Linked DNA regions of Homo sapiens: all the other regions are linked to region 1. The links are contacts of gene promoters, found by promoter capture Hi-C in blood cells and fetal thymus (Javierre and others, 2016). All regions are on one chromosome and are shown on one strand. Each heading gives the region's core, a stretch centred on a gene start or on the middle of the fragment in contact. The rest is flanking DNA. Distances are from core to core; before and after follow the strand shown. Region 1 holds the start of MBNL1 (muscleblind like splicing regulator 1). Region 2 overlaps MED12L (mediator complex subunit 12L). Region 3 overlaps MED12L (mediator complex subunit 12L).

Region 1 (2,700 bases), core at 128-2,627:
AGAAAGTTCCCATCCCTGTTCTCTGAGAAAGTGTCAGTGTTCTTTTAGTTTGCTTAAACTGTGTGGGTACTTGAGTCCTTTTAAACGATTAACGCTGGGAAGAGGCACCATTTAATTAATTAATTTGTTCTGGAAGGGATCAGTGTACAATTTTAACTCAGTGCTTTGTGGATCTAGCTAAAGGTCAAGAACTAAAGTCGGCTATTAGTGCCTCTGGAAGATATTTCTGCACTTTAGCACCTTTCTGATGTTTTTCCTTCACCTCGAGCTGGCCTCACTCTCTTCAACAAAACCGAACCTGCAGGAAGAATGTTGTACCATATCCAGCATTTTTGTCCCAACAAACATGGGACAAACGTTTTTCACTAGAATCATCCTTGAACAAGTTATCCGAATTCCTTACATTCAAAGGAAATCCTGCCCCCAGTCTCCAAAACTTCATCACATCACAGACGTTCAGGATTCTTTCCATTCAAAGCAAAGCCAAGTTACATCTTATAGCACCCAGTGAATTATGATATGGGGCTGCGGTTTATTTGCTCTGGCGACAATATGGCTTACTTGCCGTGGAATATCCCGGTATTTCAGAAGTAACATATTATTTTTAAAGAGGGAGCTTTGCTTTCTCTAAATCACATGGTGCAAAGTTGGGAATACAGTGGCCTGTAAATTACAAATATTATTTACAAACTAGAAGGAAAGCTGACATGTGTTTGTGCCTGTGTGACAGTTTCACTAAGGAATTCCAAAACTGTGGATAGCCTGTTACTTGAGAAAAATACACGGTGGCAGTCTTGCAGATGTTTTTCCCGCCTGTTAGCCCTCCAGGTTCAAAAACTGTTTGGTGCATTTTAAGGCGGCAGTCTCACCAGATCGCAGGATTCTAGTCTAATTGGCTTCTAACCTTCAATCTAACCTTGCCGGCTTCCTTGCAAAGCCCGGTGCAAGGGCCTCTTTCAAAATGAACCCACTGGTGTGCCTAGCAGTCGGTAGAAGAAGCGGGAGGGCGTCCGGTCTGCACGCCCGCCGCGAGGTTACAATGCTGAACGCATGAGATGGAAGATACCAACGGGAGGCCGAGGGGATCCACGGCGCCCGCGCGGGCTCCGGCTTCCTCCTGCTCTCGGCGCCGCTGGGCGACCGCCCATGACCCGCTCTTGCGGGCTCTGTCCGGTTGACAGGCGACCCTGTGGCCCGGGGAAGCGCGGGAGGGCGCCGGCGGAAAGTTGAAGAGCGTTTTTCTCGCCGCCGCGTGCATTAGGAGCTCGACGAGTCCGCCCTGGGCTTCCTGGTGGGGCTGGGCGGGCGGGGGAGGGGCCGCGCAGCAGCAGCGGAAGCCAGACCTCGGCGATAAGAGGCTGCACAGCGACATGCAACAGTCTTTTCACTGCAGCTGAATGAGTTGTGGCGCCCACAATGCTCCCATGACAAGGAGCTGACAAGTTCCATTTTCCGTCGCGGGCATCTTGGAATCATGACTCCCACAATGCCTTGGGCACTTGGTCGACAGTGGGGCCGCCTCTGAAAAAAAAATGTGAGAGGTAAGTTTCCATTTTCACAGTTTCCCCGCGCCGCTTCATTGTTCGGACTCCGGCGGGTCTGCCCGTGGCTGAAGGAGGAAGTGCGAGGAGGTGCTCGCCGGCCGCGGTTCTCCCGGGCAGGGGCGGGCCGCTCGCGGTAGTTGGTTTCGCGTCCCTCAGCACCTCCTGCCCGGGGGAAGGCGGGAGGGTGAGCCGCAGCCGCTCCTGCGCCCTTCCCTGCCGCGGGCTCTGCGGACGCTGTCACGGCACAGCCCGCGCACGGCTTGGCAGCCCAGCGGGACCCAGGGAGAAACAGGGGGGCGAGAAGAGAAACAGGTGCGTGCAAGTGTACTCACAACTTAATGACCTTTGTCGGGGGAAGGTGTGAGTCCCTCTGAGTCGAGCGGCGCGCGGGTCTTCCCGGCGGCTCCCGCATCCCTGGCCCCGGGGCTGCCATCCCGCCCGGTTTTCATCTGGGCCAAATATGTGCACGCAAAGGTTAATTCTCTGCTTGCTACCCATAAATTACGCATGACATGTTTAGCTGGGCTGCCTTATATGGAGAGTGCTGTATTTCAGGCCAGTTTGCCTTTTGCCAAGTTTACAGGGCGGAAGACGCCCTGTAGGAGAGGGCTGCCTCCTCCTTTTCTTCTTCTTCTTTTTTTTTTCATCGTTTTGTAGTGCGTCACTCAAAAACTGTAAGAAAAGTAAGTATAGAAGCTCTTTGGGTGGAGCCGCAGTTGGTTGAATTGCTTTCATGAAAGGTTGAAAAGAATGAAAAGTAGTTAGTACTTGGGTTCTGGTTTTTAGACAAAAGCAGGACAAATATGTAGCCACCCCCCAACTTTTTTTTTTTTTTTTAAACGGAGCCGGAATCTGTTATTGGTAGTAATGTGTCATGTGAGAATACTTTGATTCCAGAGCCTGTAACACGAGCAGGTATATGGTGGCGCTTATGCCTTCCCCTCGCACAGCACTTTACAACTACAGGGGTGTTGCTGCCAGAGTAATATTGTATTCTTAAGGCTCTCTGGGGCCGGGAGAGTATGCGGCTGTTGGGATTCTGGGGTGTATTTCCGTGGAGTATGTCTCCCCAGGATTAAAGTTAAGAAGCTGCCGGAAAGGTTGTTGCCGCTGACTTCACTTTGTGTGCCCACCAGCACAGGCACAAGTCATAGCA
Region 2 (2,700 bases), core at 100-2,599, 880 kb before region 1:
TTCTCACTCTCTCTCTCTCTCTTTTTTCTTTAGAAAGAGCTAGGAGACAAGCGATCAGAAAGTATTGACAAAGTTCGACAGTTACTACCTTTGCCGAAACAGACATGTGATGTCATCACTTGTGAACCTATGGGTTCCTTGATTGACACAAAAGGAAACAAAATTGCTGGATTTGACTCTATAGATAAAAAACAGGCAAGAGTGAATGTTTTTTCTTATATATAAATTTATTTACAAAAGATGAAATACTTTTTTTTGTCTTACCATAGGATATATAAAATATATTAATTTTGCTGTTGATGTTTTTAAGGCATATGCTTGTCTTCTAAGTGTACTTAGTCATTGGCATTATCATATAAAGAGGTCATATCTTTGAAGATCTACGTTTTATATGTTTAAAGGACTTAAAATGTTTCCCTGAATTTAAGTAAATTTTTGGAAACCTACCAAGAGAAAACTAAGTAAAAGCTTAGTGTAAAAAAAAAATTGCATAAATAAGTTCTGATTATACTTCAGATTTAGAAGCAGAATATATTTATCAATGAAAAATTTCTTGTAAGCTGAGCATGGTGGCACATGTCTTTAGTTCCAGCTACTTGGGAGGCTGAGGCAGGAGGATTGCTTGAAGCCAGGAGTTTAAGGCTGCAATGTGCTAGGCTCATGCCTGTGAATAGCCACTACACCCTAGCCTGGGCAACAAAGTGAGACCCTGTCTCTGGGGGGGGAAAAAAAAAAAAAAACCTTCCTGTAGTAAGCTATTTCAAATAAAAATTATTTTAATTGTTAGGATATTCTCTATTCCTATCAAGCAGTATTTAATGGACATTTGTTTTATATAAGATATTAAAGATGGTTCTCTAAAATATGAGAAAATTGGTCAGTTACTCTTTTAATGAACAGTAAGCAACCACCGACATTCCACAATCACCAAGATGAAAGACAGAGTTCCTACCCTCAAGGGGGAAGTAGACAGACAATTACAGTGTAATGAGATTTGTGTGACATGGTACAGAGAGAGTATTAGGGGATAGAATAGAGGGTCCCCAGGAAAATTGACACGAGTCATTTTGAAGGATTAAGAGTTAGCTGGGAGGTAGGGAAAATTGTGGTACAAATAAAGGGAGAGTTTATATGAAGACATGAAAGAATCAGATTTACCAGGGAATTTAGAGTAGCCTGAGAATCTAATACCAGTTTGTGTAAAGAAAAAAAGCTAAAGTCATGGTCAAGTTTGAGTTTGCAGTGTCAGCGGACTTCCTGGTAGTAAGACATCTGGAATCCATTTGGATGTGTGGTTTTTACACCAAGGAAAAAGTTCTCATCTCAAGACAAATATTAGGAAACAGTCAATTTACAGGTGGCAATTGAACCTTGGTTTTATTTTGTTTTACTTTGTTTATTTATATTTTTTGAGATGGAATCTCGCTCTGTCGCCCAGGCTGGAGTGCAGTAGTGCGATCTTTGCTCACTGCAACCTCTGTCTCTCGGGTTCAAACGATTCTCCTGTCTCAGCCTCCTGAGTACCTGGGATTACAGACATGCACCACCAGGCCCAGCTAATTTTTTTTTGTTTTTGTCTTTGTTTTTTTTTTTTTTTCAAGACAGAGTCTTGCTCTGTCACCCAGGCTGGAGTGCAGTGGCGTGATCTCGGCTCACTGCAACCTCCACCTCCCGGGTTCAAGCAATTCTCTGCCTCAGCCTCCTGAGTAGCTGAGATTACAGGTGCCTGCCATCATGCCTGGCTAATTTTTGTATTTTTAGTGGAGACGGAGTTTCACCATCTTGGCCAGGCTGGTCTTGAACTCCTGACCTCGTGATCCACCTGCCTCAGCCTCCCAAATTGCTGAGATTACAGGTGTGAGCCACCACACCTAGCCTTTTTTTGTATTCTTAGTAGAGACGGGGTTTCACCATGTTGGCCAGGCTGGTCTCAAAGTCCTTACCTCAGGTGATCCCACCCGCCTCAGCCTCACCAAGTGTTGGGATTACAGACACGAGCCACTGTGCCTGGCCTGAACCTTAGTTTTAGATGAAGCTACTCATAAAAGAATGCATATAGATAACAACAGTAACACTTACATCTTAGGGAATGACTGAGTAGTTATTTGGGGGCCATTTAAGGAAAAATATTTTTAAATTGACATTTTAAGGCAAGTGCCAAGAGATGTCACCAATTAATGTTAAGAATAAAAAGAGGGTAACCGTTTTTTTTTTTCTAGAGTCAGTAAATATAAGCTTGAGTTGAAAGACTTTACTTATTCCTGCTGCTACAATTTAATTCTCTAATAATAATATTATATTCAGAGTATGGCTTATTAAGTACAGGGCCCACATATTGAACCAAGTTCATGCAGATTTGGATTGAAGTTAATACTAACCCAATTACAGGTTGACTATAACTTGACTCTTAAATTTGATATTATCTTCAAAATTATAAATAGATTACAGAGATTTAGAACTGGTTATAATTTAGTAAGATTAACTTTGCAGTGTTAGAATTTTTAGCAACAAATTTTTAGAATTTTTTTAGCAAAAAGAGGAAATACACATTAACAATAAAATATGCTAGACTGCCTCTGTTGCCTAAACAGAGCATCATGTGGTTAAAGAACTGTAGAACCGGGCTTACAAAGGTCTGAATTCTAGCCACTGCTCTCCGGTGATGTAGCTGTGTAACCCTCTCTGCTGTATTCTCGGGTT
Region 3 (2,700 bases), core at 9-2,508, 950 kb before region 1:
GTTACATGGATATTGAAAATATTGATACACCCAGTTTCTGACCAAGGCTGAGTTCTCTGGCCTGTGTGGTTGCACCCAACTGTTTGATTTGTACTTCTCTGTTAGCTATTTCACATGGAACATGTTCACTATGCACATCATAGCATAGAAAGGAATTATTCTACATGTTCATAGAAATCCCTGGGAAAAGCCTAACTAATATAAAAGCTGATTTGTTTCTCCCTGGAAGTCTTTTGAGGCAGGGTCTTGCTCTGTCATCCAGGCTGGAGTGCAGTGGTGTGATCATGGCCCACTGCAACCTCAACCTCCTGGACTCAAGTGATTCTCACACTTTTGCCTCCCGAGTTGCTGGGACTACAGGTGCATGCCACCAGGCCCAGGTAATTTTTTTTTTATTTTTTTATTTTTTGTAGAGTTGCGGTTTTACCATGTTGTCCAGGCTGGTCTCAAACTCCTGGGCTCAAGCAATTCACCTGCCTTGGCCTCCCAAAATGCTGGGATTATAGGTGTGAGCTACTGCATCTGGCGCCCCATGGAACTCTTTTAAACTGACTTATCCATTATGGGAAGATAAGGGTTGCTTCTACTTCCTCACTTCCCATTCACAAACTGGAGCTCACCCCACTTCCACCTCAGAGTTATCGTTGACCTTATAGTTGTAGATTCATCACTTTTGACTAAATTTAGAGTGTATAATTCTGTTGGCTATCTCTTCCTCCTTGAATCTCTCTTGTTCCTTGGTATTCAGTACACTGGACTTCCTGATTCTCCTTTTCTACTAACACTACCCACTCCTCCCAGTTCCAAGGCATCATCCCCTGTTCCTCTTCTGTCTGTTGTGACCATGAGACCTGTGTAGTATGGCCTCTGGGGTTCTCATCTCATTCCTTTTTCTCTCCCTGTCTCAAAAAAGATTATTCCCTAGACCTCTAATCTTAGTCCTATTTTTGGAGCCTGGGTCCATATTTTGGCCCAGCTGTGGGCTCTTTGACCCTAGCTCTTTCACTGATACCTCAAATGGAACATACCCCAAATCCACTTCTGTGATGATGACCTAGCAAATCGTTCAAGCTAACGGTCCTGAGAGAAATCAACCCTCAATTCGAGGAGAAGGGGGTGGAGGCATTATGGATCCCATTGCTAATATATTTTACATGTTAACCACATGTTTTACATAGAGTCCCCCACTTTCAATGGTCTTGGACTCTGAACTTAAAACCTCTCTCCCTGAGAATGTCTGGAAGGTCCATGTCAGATGTTTTCCCCATCATTCTTGCCTGCATACATGGAAAGCCTCTTTAATTGACCTGGCCTCACTGGCTCTTCCTTCAGTCTAGAATCATCCTATAGTTGGTCAATTGATTTTCCTAAAGCACAGCCCAGAACATGTGGTTCTTCACCTTAGAAACCTTCAACGACTCATTAGTGAAGACTAGATGTCCCAGTACAGTGCTTGGCTGTACAGTCCTGCATCTCTGTCCCAAATGTATTCCCTATGTCATGTGCTGTAGGCTCAGGCCCCCTGCAACCCTCACGCTCCAACCACAGCACAGTTCCACCCCTACCTGAGCCTGCCTTGAAACTGCTTATTGTGCCGCAGGGTTCCCTTTTGAATGCTCTGTTTTCTTCAAGTTCCAGTTCAAATTTCCATCTCCTGTGAACCCTTCTTCATTTTCTCCATGTGGAATGAATTGCCTATTCCTTTGAACTTCTGTGGTGTGTCTCTCACACCTCTTATCACATCTTGAGTCATTATAATCTGTGTTCCTTACCAGTGTTCACCTTCTAGAGATGCAAAAGGCCCTGTACCCAAGTTGATGATGAAGGAATGACTGGCTAAATGAACAAATGAATCCACTATTGGGGAGTTTACTCCCCCTGAGCTCTCAAGTGCTGGAGGGACCCCTGAAGTAATTGTAGGTGCCACTATTGCACCATTCATACCCCTGAGGTTGTTGAAGCCCATTCGTGTTGAGACTTCTCTCTTCCCCTCTAAGAAGCCTCCTCATTCTCCCTAGTGGGGCCTTTGAGGAATTCTGCTAAGTCTGACAGGACAGAGAGGCAGTGACCAGAGCAGTTGAGGTGCTGGTCTTGAGACCACCTTCCTGGGTTTCAGTCCCAGCTCTGCCCCATTTGTTGGTGAGTGATGTGCACCATGGGCAAGGTGTATGTTTACTTTGTGCTTCAGTTTTGTTCCTATTTTTAACTAGAGAGCCTAGTAGTATTTGTCTCATAAGATTGTAGTAAGAATTAGAAAAATGATAATCTTTGTAAAGAGCCTGGCACACAGCAGGCATTCAGGAAATGAGTGTGAGCTGCTTGGGTAAGGTCCTGGGAGGTTCTTGTTAGCCTCTAGGTCAGGGCTTATTACCTGGCAGCATCTGGGCTGGTTACTACCCACACAGAAACGTATCGTTTTTGTGGGGTCAGGGAGCATGGGGGTGGCTACGGAAGTTTTGTAAATAACAGGAAATATAGCATGGGAGACTGGAATTGTGAATTCACTTGAGAAAATTAGACCTGAGGTTGTAAATACAGTTGTTAAGAATATGGGCTTAGAAGCCACGTCTCAATTAAAGCCCCATTCCTGCAGATGGCAAGCTCTGTGACCTCATGCAAGTTACTTAGCCTTTCTGTTTCTCAACTTCTTGATCTCTAAAATGAAGATAATAAGCATTTCATAGCCTGCCTGGGATTATT

The links. Contacts are between HindIII fragments. The CHiCAGO score rates a contact against its expected background, and 5 or more counts as called.
Region 2: a contact is called between a fragment that was not itself captured here and the fragment with the promoter of MBNL1 in region 1, in 1 of 17 cell types (neutrophils). The highest score is 5.4, in neutrophils.
Region 3: a contact is called between a fragment that was not itself captured here and the fragment with the promoter of MBNL1 in region 1, in 2 of 17 cell types (monocytes and neutrophils). The highest score is 5.4, in monocytes.

What each region holds. Positions count from the first base shown.
Region 1 is chr3:152,267,552-152,270,251 of GRCh38, forward strand. MBNL1 (muscleblind like splicing regulator 1) reads left to right here and starts at 1,378. Exons shown (of 10, transcript NM_021038.5): 1 at 1,378-1,541. It overlaps MBNL1-AS1 (MBNL1 antisense RNA 1), which reads right to left and starts at 2,075. Exons shown (of 2, transcript NR_027038.1): 1 at 1,877-2,075; 2 at 1-1,521. RefSeq lists enhancers at 581-1,423, 866-965, 1,424-2,265 and silencers at 1,156-1,215, 1,266-1,315, 1,716-1,825. The HindIII fragment of the contact is 10,088 bases long and covers 1-2,700 here.
Region 2 is chr3:151,384,997-151,387,696 of GRCh38, forward strand. MED12L (mediator complex subunit 12L) reads left to right here. Exons shown (of 45, transcript NM_001393769.1): 36 at 34-195. Among named protein-coding and RNA genes, the nearest start is that of P2RY12, 1.6 kb to the left of the region's middle. The HindIII fragment of the contact is 1,767 bases long and covers 467-2,233 here.
Region 3 is chr3:151,321,969-151,324,668 of GRCh38, forward strand. All of the region lies in intron 16 of MED12L (mediator complex subunit 12L), which reads left to right. Among named protein-coding and RNA genes, the nearest start is that of P2RY13, 6.2 kb to the right of the region's middle. The HindIII fragment of the contact is 3,707 bases long and covers 1-2,700 here.